Linked DNA regions of Homo sapiens: region 1 is linked to region 2. Evidence: promoter capture Hi-C in 16 types of primary human blood cells and fetal thymus (Javierre and others, 2016). All regions are on one chromosome and are shown on one strand. The core of a region is centred on a gene start or on the middle of the fragment in contact, and the rest is flanking DNA. Distances in the headings are between cores, read along the strand shown.

Region 1 (4,469 bases), core at 1,588-4,087, 230 kb after region 2:
AACCTCTCTCTCCCTTGTCTTTGTCCCGTCTCATAACTTAGGCGTGATGTGCTGCTGTATCTGCCTTGCTGCCTTCTCCTGAGTGGAAGCTGCAGCTACAGTGTTGGTTATTACACCTGGCAATTAGATTGTGCAGGACAGTAGTTGGCTAGGAATGGCATAAGGTTGCATGCCTCGTTAAATCTGAACTCCACTCAGCATAGACTCTTGTAGAAGCAAGGGGGATTTGTTTAGGTAAGGAGCCCTTGAAAGGAGCCTGCTTGTTGAACTGTATGTTGAGCAGCAGTGATGAAAAGATGCCTAAACATGTGTCCCACAGCAGCTACAGTCCATCAGCATTGGACACATTGGTAGATCACCCCTGCTGTTAACACAGGTCTTTTCAGCTTACTCGTTTGTGTACTTAACTGTTGAGTGCTCTTTTAATTAGGGGCGACTAACATCAAAGTACTATAGTTGTGCCGGGCCTGCTAATCAACAGGTTTCACTTATACTGGGGATCACTTCAGCTTTACACCACCATTATCATGACATTGATTTTTCTGTGCACATAAAAGGAAGCACTTACTGAATACAGGAAAAAATCATGATTGCTAGGTGGAAAAAAAAACAAAAAACCAGCAAGAGGAACTCAGTTACCCAGGGAAAATGTAAACGTTTCATATGAACATTGACAGTGAAATGGATTTGATGAGTTTTGAGGTGATTTTGTTAGATACTTTGAGAGAAATTGAGAATTCTGTATTCCGAAGAGACAGCCGGACTTGAAACTCTAGAGGTATGATTTTGACCAAGACCTGAACTTCTCTTTGCCTCAGTTTTTTCATCTATAAAATAGGGTTAGTAATAATACCAACCTCACTGAGATATTGTGAGGATTTTGTGAGATATTGTGAGATTGAATGATTAGCTTAGTCACTGGATGTAAGTACTCAAATTATAGCTATTAATAAGTGTGATACGGCTGGGCACGGTGGCTCACGTCTGTAATCCCAGCACTGTGGGAGGCCGAGGTGGGCGTATCACAAAGTCAGGAGTTCGAGACCATCCTGGCTAACACGGTGAAACCCCATCTCTACTAAAAATACAAAAAATTAGTCGGGCATGGTGGCACCTGTTGTCCCAGCTACTCAGGAGGCTGAGGCAGGAGAATGGCGTGAACCTGGGAGGCGGAGCTTGCAGTGAGCCGAGATCGCGCCACCGCACTCCAGCCTGGGTGACAGCGCGAGATTCTGTCTCAAAAAAAAAAAAATAAGTGTGATACTTAATGTCATAAATCATTGTTATTATTTCTGAGAACTGATATCTTGTGGTCCATTGTTGTGGCAGAAGTATAATTTATATAGGAACCGAAACCAGCCCTCGATTTTTTTTTTTAATCGCCGATCTTGGTTGGGCTTCACTATCATTTTCATCAGCTTCACAACCCCTCAGTTCTGAGAACCCTCCTTGCCATACAAGCCACTGGAGTGTCTGCGTTTCCTTTCTGTGGACATTGTCACCTTTCCCTTCATTTTGGTAAGGCCATGGAAACAGAGCAATCAGATAAAAGACCTGGGCATTTGGCACTTTCATTGGCCATACTTCTCCTTCTGGCTTGAGTTTATATGTGGTTTGGGGTAGTTACTGGTGAAATTGAGCTTTGCAGCTGTCTACTTAATCTGCATTTCCTGATCTGCTTTGGCTGGCAATCAAAAGCTGTATCTATTTCGGAGATTGCGCAATAAGACTTTTAATGACAAGTTAAAAGACAAAGGGTTGGTGGGATTGAACCTTATGCAGAAAATACTTCACTATACTTCGGTGGCTCCTGTTTACTGGTGATTTTGTGTGGATAGTAACTTAAAATCAAGAAACATTTTTGCTAACATATTTCCTGGGCCATTTTAGAAAGAAATTTCTTTATTTAGCCAGTAAGTAGAGCTTTCTTTAGCGTTTACATAGTTATCTTTTTAATATTAATTTTTGCAATCCATATGAATGAGGCCACATGTCCTTTAACAATTTTAGACCTCTTCTGTTATGCATTACTGCCATCTGTCAGTATGAGAGAAAGCTTCCTGGGGCAGAAGGACTTAAAACAATGGTTCTCAACCCTGGGGTCACATTAGAATCACTGGCAGAGCTTTTAAGAAATTTTAGTGCCTGGGCCAGTTCCAGATACATAGTTGCTCTGGGATGGGGCCCAGGCATTGATGTTTTTAAAAAACTCCCTAGGTGATTCTAGGGTATAACTGGGCTGAGAGGCTCTCCTCCGAAAGCACTGTCTTAATGGAAGAACCAGTGGCATGAGAACAGTTCTGCTTTTTCTCAGCAGTAACCTTGTTGTCTTCCATTGCAGTGCTGATTTTGACAATGGAGCCATGCGGTTGTATTTGGGTAGCGGTTTGGAGGGTAACAAGTGTGTCTTTTGTATCTCTGAATCCTCTGCAGCCAGTCTAGTGCCTGGCATATACTAGATGCTCACTATCCTCCACTTCACTTCTTTTGGATGACTAAATAATGGAATGGAGCCCAGATGTACTAGCCTTTTTACTTAATCCCTGAGCCTTTCTCCTTCAGTGGTCCGTAAGGGAGCAGGTCCACAAGCATACACTTTTATTGTTCCAGGAGGAGGAAGACGCCCAGCTTCGGAATGCTTGAGGCATAAAACTGATCCTTGGTTAAGATCAGCAGAGGCTTGCTGTGTGCAACATAAATTGTCAGGTAAAGAAGCAATTAACGTAGTGCCATTTATTTCCTCTTTAAGCATCTAGTCCTTATGAGTGTTGTGGTTCTGCACTCCAACTGGAAACAGGTTCTCTATTGCCCTGTTTTGCTCTTAAACACAGACACCTTTTTCAGTCAAGAGAATTAGGGCCTTTTAAAAACTCTTCTTTCTTTCTTTTCCTTTTTAGGTAGCCCATATTGAATCAGGTCCTGCAGCTATAGTTATTCATGCAGGGAGAATTCTATGAACACAGGGGAGAATGGCCTGGGAGTTTGATAATTTGTTATTTTTTGGTTTGTAGATTGAGAAGTATATTAAGTAAGGATAACCCCTTATAGTTAGTTAGTTATTTTATAGTTTTCCTGTCCAGAAGGTTTTAATCTCTCACACGGCTGTGGACTGGCAAAGTAACTAATTATTGTCTCCAGTTTATGGATAAAAAAATTTAAGATGCGGCAAGGTTAAGTGACCTGCCTAAGGTGATAGACCTGGGCCTTGAATCCACAGCTTTTGACTGTAAATCCCTTCAGTACACTGAGCTTTGGATAGTACTTTTGCTTGGATTAGAACACCCTATAAATGTGACTAATGGCATCTCAGGGTTCTGTCCTGGCTGTCATAGTTGAATCCTTTATTTGCATTGCATGTGCTTGCTTGTGTGTGTGCGTGTGCAACTATTAATATTAAGCATCTTGCCATTTGCCTCTGTAGAGCACAGTTGATAGACGGGAATATACACTTGATGTAGTCAAGAGAGTGTCATCTTTTATTAAGAATTCTGATCTTGCCTCTCCAAAATGCCTACTTTCACTTTTAGTCTATTGTAAGTGTGAATATTTGTGTGTGGTATTTTATTCCTAGGCAAGGTGTTTTTCTCAGTCTATGTTGTGTGTCTAGGATGATAATGTTAAAGCTTAATATATTTAGTTTTGGAAGACTACATTTTTCTGGGGTGGTTTATGAGTTGTTTTCCTTCCTCCAACAAATTATTGAGTGTCTAGTATGTGTTCTATGCTGTCTACCTTTACTTCCATCTCAAGGAAGTCTAGGATAAAAATAACATTGTTTATCTGTGAAGGGATAAAGAGTCAACACCCATTTCATGTCAGCTCTGTCTTTATTAGGCATTTGGCTATTGAGCTTTCTAATTTCTTGACTTTTGGGAGTGTTTCTCCCAGTTACCAGACAGGTCCAGGGTGGGAAATGCTTTCCTTGGGCCCCAGAACTAGCTCATGGAGAGGTGGTTGTAGCTTCTGGGAATTTTGAAAAGAGCCACACCCAGGAATCTGCTTGGACTATGTGTTCTTTCTGTCCTGCCTTTACTCTCCTCTTTTCTCCCTCTTATAAGCAAAGCGTCTTTTTGCTTCCTTGCCCCCAATCCCAGAGAGACTGTTAACTTATGTTTGCATGTAAGGAGAACAGTCAGAGTTAAGGATCTCAAACTCAGGAAAGTGGTTTTTGTACTCAAGAGCTCCCTGTGTGTTTGCGCAGCACACTTACCTCCATCCAGGATGCACTTATCCTGCGTAGATGGATTGTAACCGTGATAGAGGGGGAAAAAGAAGAGGGGAAAAAAAAACCCCTAAAAAAACCCTGGATTCTGAAGATGGCTGCAGTATATTCTTCAATAGAAATTTGAAGCATGAAGTGGATTTTAGAACACCACATGAAGCTCTTCTTACTTAAAACACAAGAACTTAAAACTTGGCCAGGGGAAAGGTGTAGGGAGGTGGAGAAAAGCACTCCTTCCATTTAAGGG
Region 2 (4,266 bases), core at 1,107-3,606:
ATAAGCCCAGATTTTTGCTTTAAATTGCGAAGAACTTGCTTTATTTTGTAGGATGAGCTTGATAACCTCAGCGTGGATTTCAGCAGCTGCCGGAAACAGCACTCTAGAAGTTAACACAGGTACGCTCCGTACTGAGGCACTGTTTTAGCTAACTGCTCCAGGGACAGCAGGCTCAGTCCTCTTAGGTAAGTAATTTTGGAAGGTGGCACTGTGTTCCTAATAAATTGAATCAGATCCCTTAGGTTAGTCACTATTCTTAAGAAATAAAGCACGAAATCAACTTGAAGTCATCTGTTGAGAAGGCCGTGGATAGACCTGAAAAGGAACATTTTGAACATTTAATTGAACCTCTTTGATTTACAGATGAAAAAACTAGTCATTTAAAAAAGTCTTGCCTAAGGTCAAATGTTTTGTTTCCTGGACTGGCATAAAGCTCATCTGTCACAGTCGGGTGGATGTTCCTTTCTGTTCCTGGCAACTTGACCCCCCCGTCCCCCCAACCCCATCTCTCCATCTGATTTCATAAAGATCCAGACCTGGGATTCAGAAACGGGGAAGCTGAAGGAGTGTGACCTAAAACAAGAGAAAGACAAGCTATTAAATTGTTATTAGGAATTATAAGACGAGAGAGGCTTGCCTGCTAGAACGTCAAGAAGCAGTATCTTTTCTGTTTTGTACAACGCTGTATTCCCAGCACCTACAACTGTGCCTGCTAAGCCTGGTAAGGCCTAATAATTGTTAAATGAAAAACAATCAATCACTCAATCATAGATGTGTCAGATTGTGAGAGAAAACACGTCCTTACTGTTTTCTCTACCACCCTCCTTCCAGTAATACTAATAAAATGTGCACATTTGTATTCTAAAGAGGTGAAATCATATACACAGCGCTCTAGCACGGTGCCTGGCCCATTGTAATTAATACATGCCAGTTTATTTTCCTTTTCTTCCTCCACAAGTATGGGCTACTAGGGAGGACGAAGGGTTGGTGCCGTGGTGTTTATGTGCCTGGACAGAAAGTGAAGCGTATCCAAGAGGCTGCTGAGAGCGGGCTGTCGGTCTTTCTGATCCGTATAGATCAATTCCAGTGCCCTGAAAAACGCACAGCTATTTTACCCAGAGAGGCTGGTCGCTTTTGTTGATCGATTCTCGGCTGCAGTCAGCTCTTTAATACAACTTTTTATGAGCATCAGCCACATTGCGGCGGGAGGAGGGGCTGTGGTGGAAAAAGCAGGGAAACCGCCCCCCACTCCCAAAAAGTAAAGGAAGCCCGCGGGGCAGGGACTGCGGTTTGCCGGTCTAACGGGTCCTCGAGCTGGGGCGGCGGTCCCGGCCCCTTCGGCCCCGCCCCTCGCCCGCGGCCGCCTCCGAGGTTCAAGTTCGGCCCCCGGCTGTTAGGCCTCGCGCTCCCGGATCTGAAGCCGCCCGTGCGTCCCTAGGTCCCCCGCTGGAAGACGAGGCGGGAATCCCAGGGGTCATCCGGGCGCGGGGTCGCTCGTCCACGCACTGTGGTGCCACGTGGAGGAAAAGTTTCCAACTCTGCCAGTTGGTGCTCCCACTGCGCCCAGGCGGAGCAAAGGCCCGCGCTTTGGCACCCGCTCCCCGTTCTGTCTCCTCCAGTCGCGCCCCCTCCCAGGGACGCCCCCCTTGTACCCCTTCTCTGAATTCCCTTCTCTCCTCGCAGCGCAGGTAGCCAAGGGAAAACACCCTTGGGGGCTGGTGGGGCTTCCCGAGAAGGCGGCCTCGGGCCGGCCAGGGGTAGAGGATCCAGGGACAAGTGTCCCGAGGAGGATGTGGGGGGCGCGCGCGCGAAGTGGCCTGGGAGCAGGGGCCCACACGCGTCCCCGCTGCGACAGGCGGGATCCTCCGGCGGCTTCCACGCCCTGGCGCGCCAACTCTGCCCGGCCGCGGCCGACCCCACGCGGGCGCCCCCTCCACGCCCCCGCCCCCGCCCCCCTCACAGCTCCCCACCGCCCCCAGTGCGCAGGCCCGGCCGCCCCAGCGCGCATGCCCTGGGCTCGCGAGCGCGGCCAGCCCCCAGCCTTTTGCTTTCTACACACTCTACAACTGGGGAGGGGGCGGGGGAGGAGGGAGCCCAGCCGTCCACGTGATCCCGCCGGCCGGGGCCGCGGGGGCGGGAGCGCGCGCCGAGAGAGGCGCGGGGAGGGCGGGTGCGCGGGAGCGCGCGCACTCGAGCGAGCGAGCGAAAGCACGAACGAGCGAGCGAGCGAGCGAGCGAGCGGGCGGGCGCGGGGTTGGGCTGAGGCGGGCGGCGGCGGCGGCGGCGGCGGTGGGCTGGCCGCGGAGGGGGAGGAGCGGGAGCTGCGCGAGGCAGGCGGGCGGGCGGAGGATGGGGCAGTGCCCGGGCTCCCGCTGCAGCCGCCCGGGGACACGCCGTGCACCCTCCGGCTCGGGGCTTTCTCGGCGGCGGCGGCGGCAGCAGCAGCAGCGTTAGCGGCGGCGGCGAGAGCAGCGTTCCCGGCTGCGCTTCTCCCTCAGGCGGGGCGGCGAGAGAAGCGGCGGCGGCGGCGGCGGCACACCGGTGTCTCTCCCGCTGGAGATTTCTTTCTGCTTTCCTCATCGACTGACTGACTCACCCCCTCCCTTTTTTGAGGAAGGGTGACCTCTTCTCTGGGACTGGAAAAAATATTTTTGTGAGGAGGGGGGCGGGTGGCAGCGACAGGGTTTGCTTCTTCTCTTCTTTCATCTCCCTCTCCTCCCCCCTCGAAGACCGAAAAGCAAACCCCACAACTGCTCCAGCAGCATCCTCCTTCCCTTCCTCCGCCTCCCTTCTCCTCCGCCGCTCGCAGTTTCGCCCTCTCTTCCGCTAATGATTGCATTATTATGCTCCCCTCTCTGGGGGGTCTCGCCCCTCTTGGGTCGCTCCGGAGCCCCGGCCTCCCCTGGCTGCATTTCTTAAAAATTTGGGAGCCTGGGAGTGAGTTTTCTCCGAGGCGTGTGTGAGAGGCGGCGGGGGTGTTTTCCTGCGCGAGGGGCGGGTGAAGTTCATTGCCCCCACTTTTCCCGCGACCTTTTTCGGACCCGATTTTGGATCGAGTTGAGGGGGGCGCGGGCGTTTTCGGGGGGCGGGGGGCGCGGCGGAGAATGGCCGCGGGGAGGGCTCCCCGGAGCCTCCCAGTCTCTTGATCAAAGCATTCCGCTATTCTGATTTATTGCTTGCTTGGTGAGTTATTTTTTTTTCCTCTAAAGGAGACCTGTGTGTTCAGCCATTACTTTGCTCGGCGCTGCTCCCAGGCATCTCCGACCCTCGGTGCTGTGGGGAGCCCCACACTTGGGCTCCTCGCCTCTCGCCCTCGCTCCCCGTCCCTCCTCCCCTCTCTCCGCCCCTTCCCCCTTTTCTTTCTCCTCTCTTTCTTCCCCTCTCTCCCTTCTTTCGGCCGCCGTCTCCCCCGCGCCCTCCTCGGGGCGGAGGGAAGCCGTGAAGGGGGAGGGAGGGCTCGGTGTCAATTTTTTTTTGTGTGGCTGCGGCCGTAGCCTGTGGCGGGCAAGCGGGGAGACCCCGGCGCAGCAGAACCATGGATGGCCCGACGCGGGGCCATGGACTCCGCAAAAAGCGGCGGTCGCGGTCGCAGCGAGACCGGGAGAGGCGCTCCCGGGGCGGGCTGGGGGCCGGCGCGGCCGGCGGCGGCGGGGCTGGCCGGACCCGGGCGCTCTCACTCGCCTCGTCGTCGGGCTCCGACAAGGAAGACAATGGGAAGCCCCCGTCCTCCGCCCCGTCCCGGCCCAGACCCCCGCGGAGGAAGCGGAGAGAGTCCACCTCGGCAGAAGAGGACATCATTGATGGATTTGCCATGACCAGCTTTGTCACTTTTGAAGCGCTGGAGGTAAGGGGGACCCCCCTTCCCCCGGGTTCCCTTTATGCACGACCCCACTCGGCTGCGCCCGGCTCTCCTGCCTCCCTCGCCGCGCTCCGGGCTGTCTGTCTGTCTGTCTGTCTGTCTGTCTGTCTAGGCTGAGGTCTTATTGTTGGTGGGGGGAGCTGGGGGCGCGGGCAGACAGGCAGCAGGAGGGAGTCGCAAAGCCGTGCCTGGTCTCGTTTCCTCGCTCGCCTTTCCCCTGCGCCCCCTCCCTGCACCCCCTCCACAGCAGATGGGCAGAAAGAAAGGGGTTCGGGCATCACAACAATGCGCCCCCTCTCCACAGAGAGCTCTGCCCCCACTCCTTCCTCCTCTCCCTCCCCAATCATGGCTTCTTGGCTGGTGGAAGTCTCTTTGCTGGGTTTGGGGCGCCTGTGGACGGTTCTGTG

The links. Contacts are between HindIII fragments. The CHiCAGO score rates a contact against its expected background, and 5 or more counts as called.
Region 1: a contact is called between a fragment that was not itself captured here and the fragment with the promoter of AUTS2 in region 2, in 1 of 17 cell types (total B cells). The highest score is 5.0, in total B cells.

The regions. Positions count from the first base shown.
Region 1 is chr7:69,823,170-69,827,638 of GRCh38, forward strand. The region is part of intron 1 of AUTS2 (activator of transcription and developmental regulator AUTS2); the gene reads left to right. Among named protein-coding and RNA genes, the nearest start is that of AUTS2, 230 kb to the left of the region's middle. The HindIII fragment of the contact is 1,567 bases long and covers 2,055-3,621 here.
Region 2 is chr7:69,596,119-69,600,384 of GRCh38, forward strand. It overlaps AUTS2 (activator of transcription and developmental regulator AUTS2), which reads left to right and starts at 2,357. Exons shown (of 19, transcript NM_015570.4): 1 at 2,357-3,844. The coding sequence starts at 3,536. CT66 (cancer/testis associated transcript 66) reads right to left here and starts at 1,506. Exons shown (of 3, transcript NR_148927.1): 1 at 929-1,506; 2 at 537-573; 3 at 1-315. RefSeq lists enhancers at 1,527-1,606, 2,787-2,836 and silencers at 1,917-2,336, 2,357-2,436, 3,601-3,670. The HindIII fragment of the contact is 6,527 bases long and covers 1-4,266 here.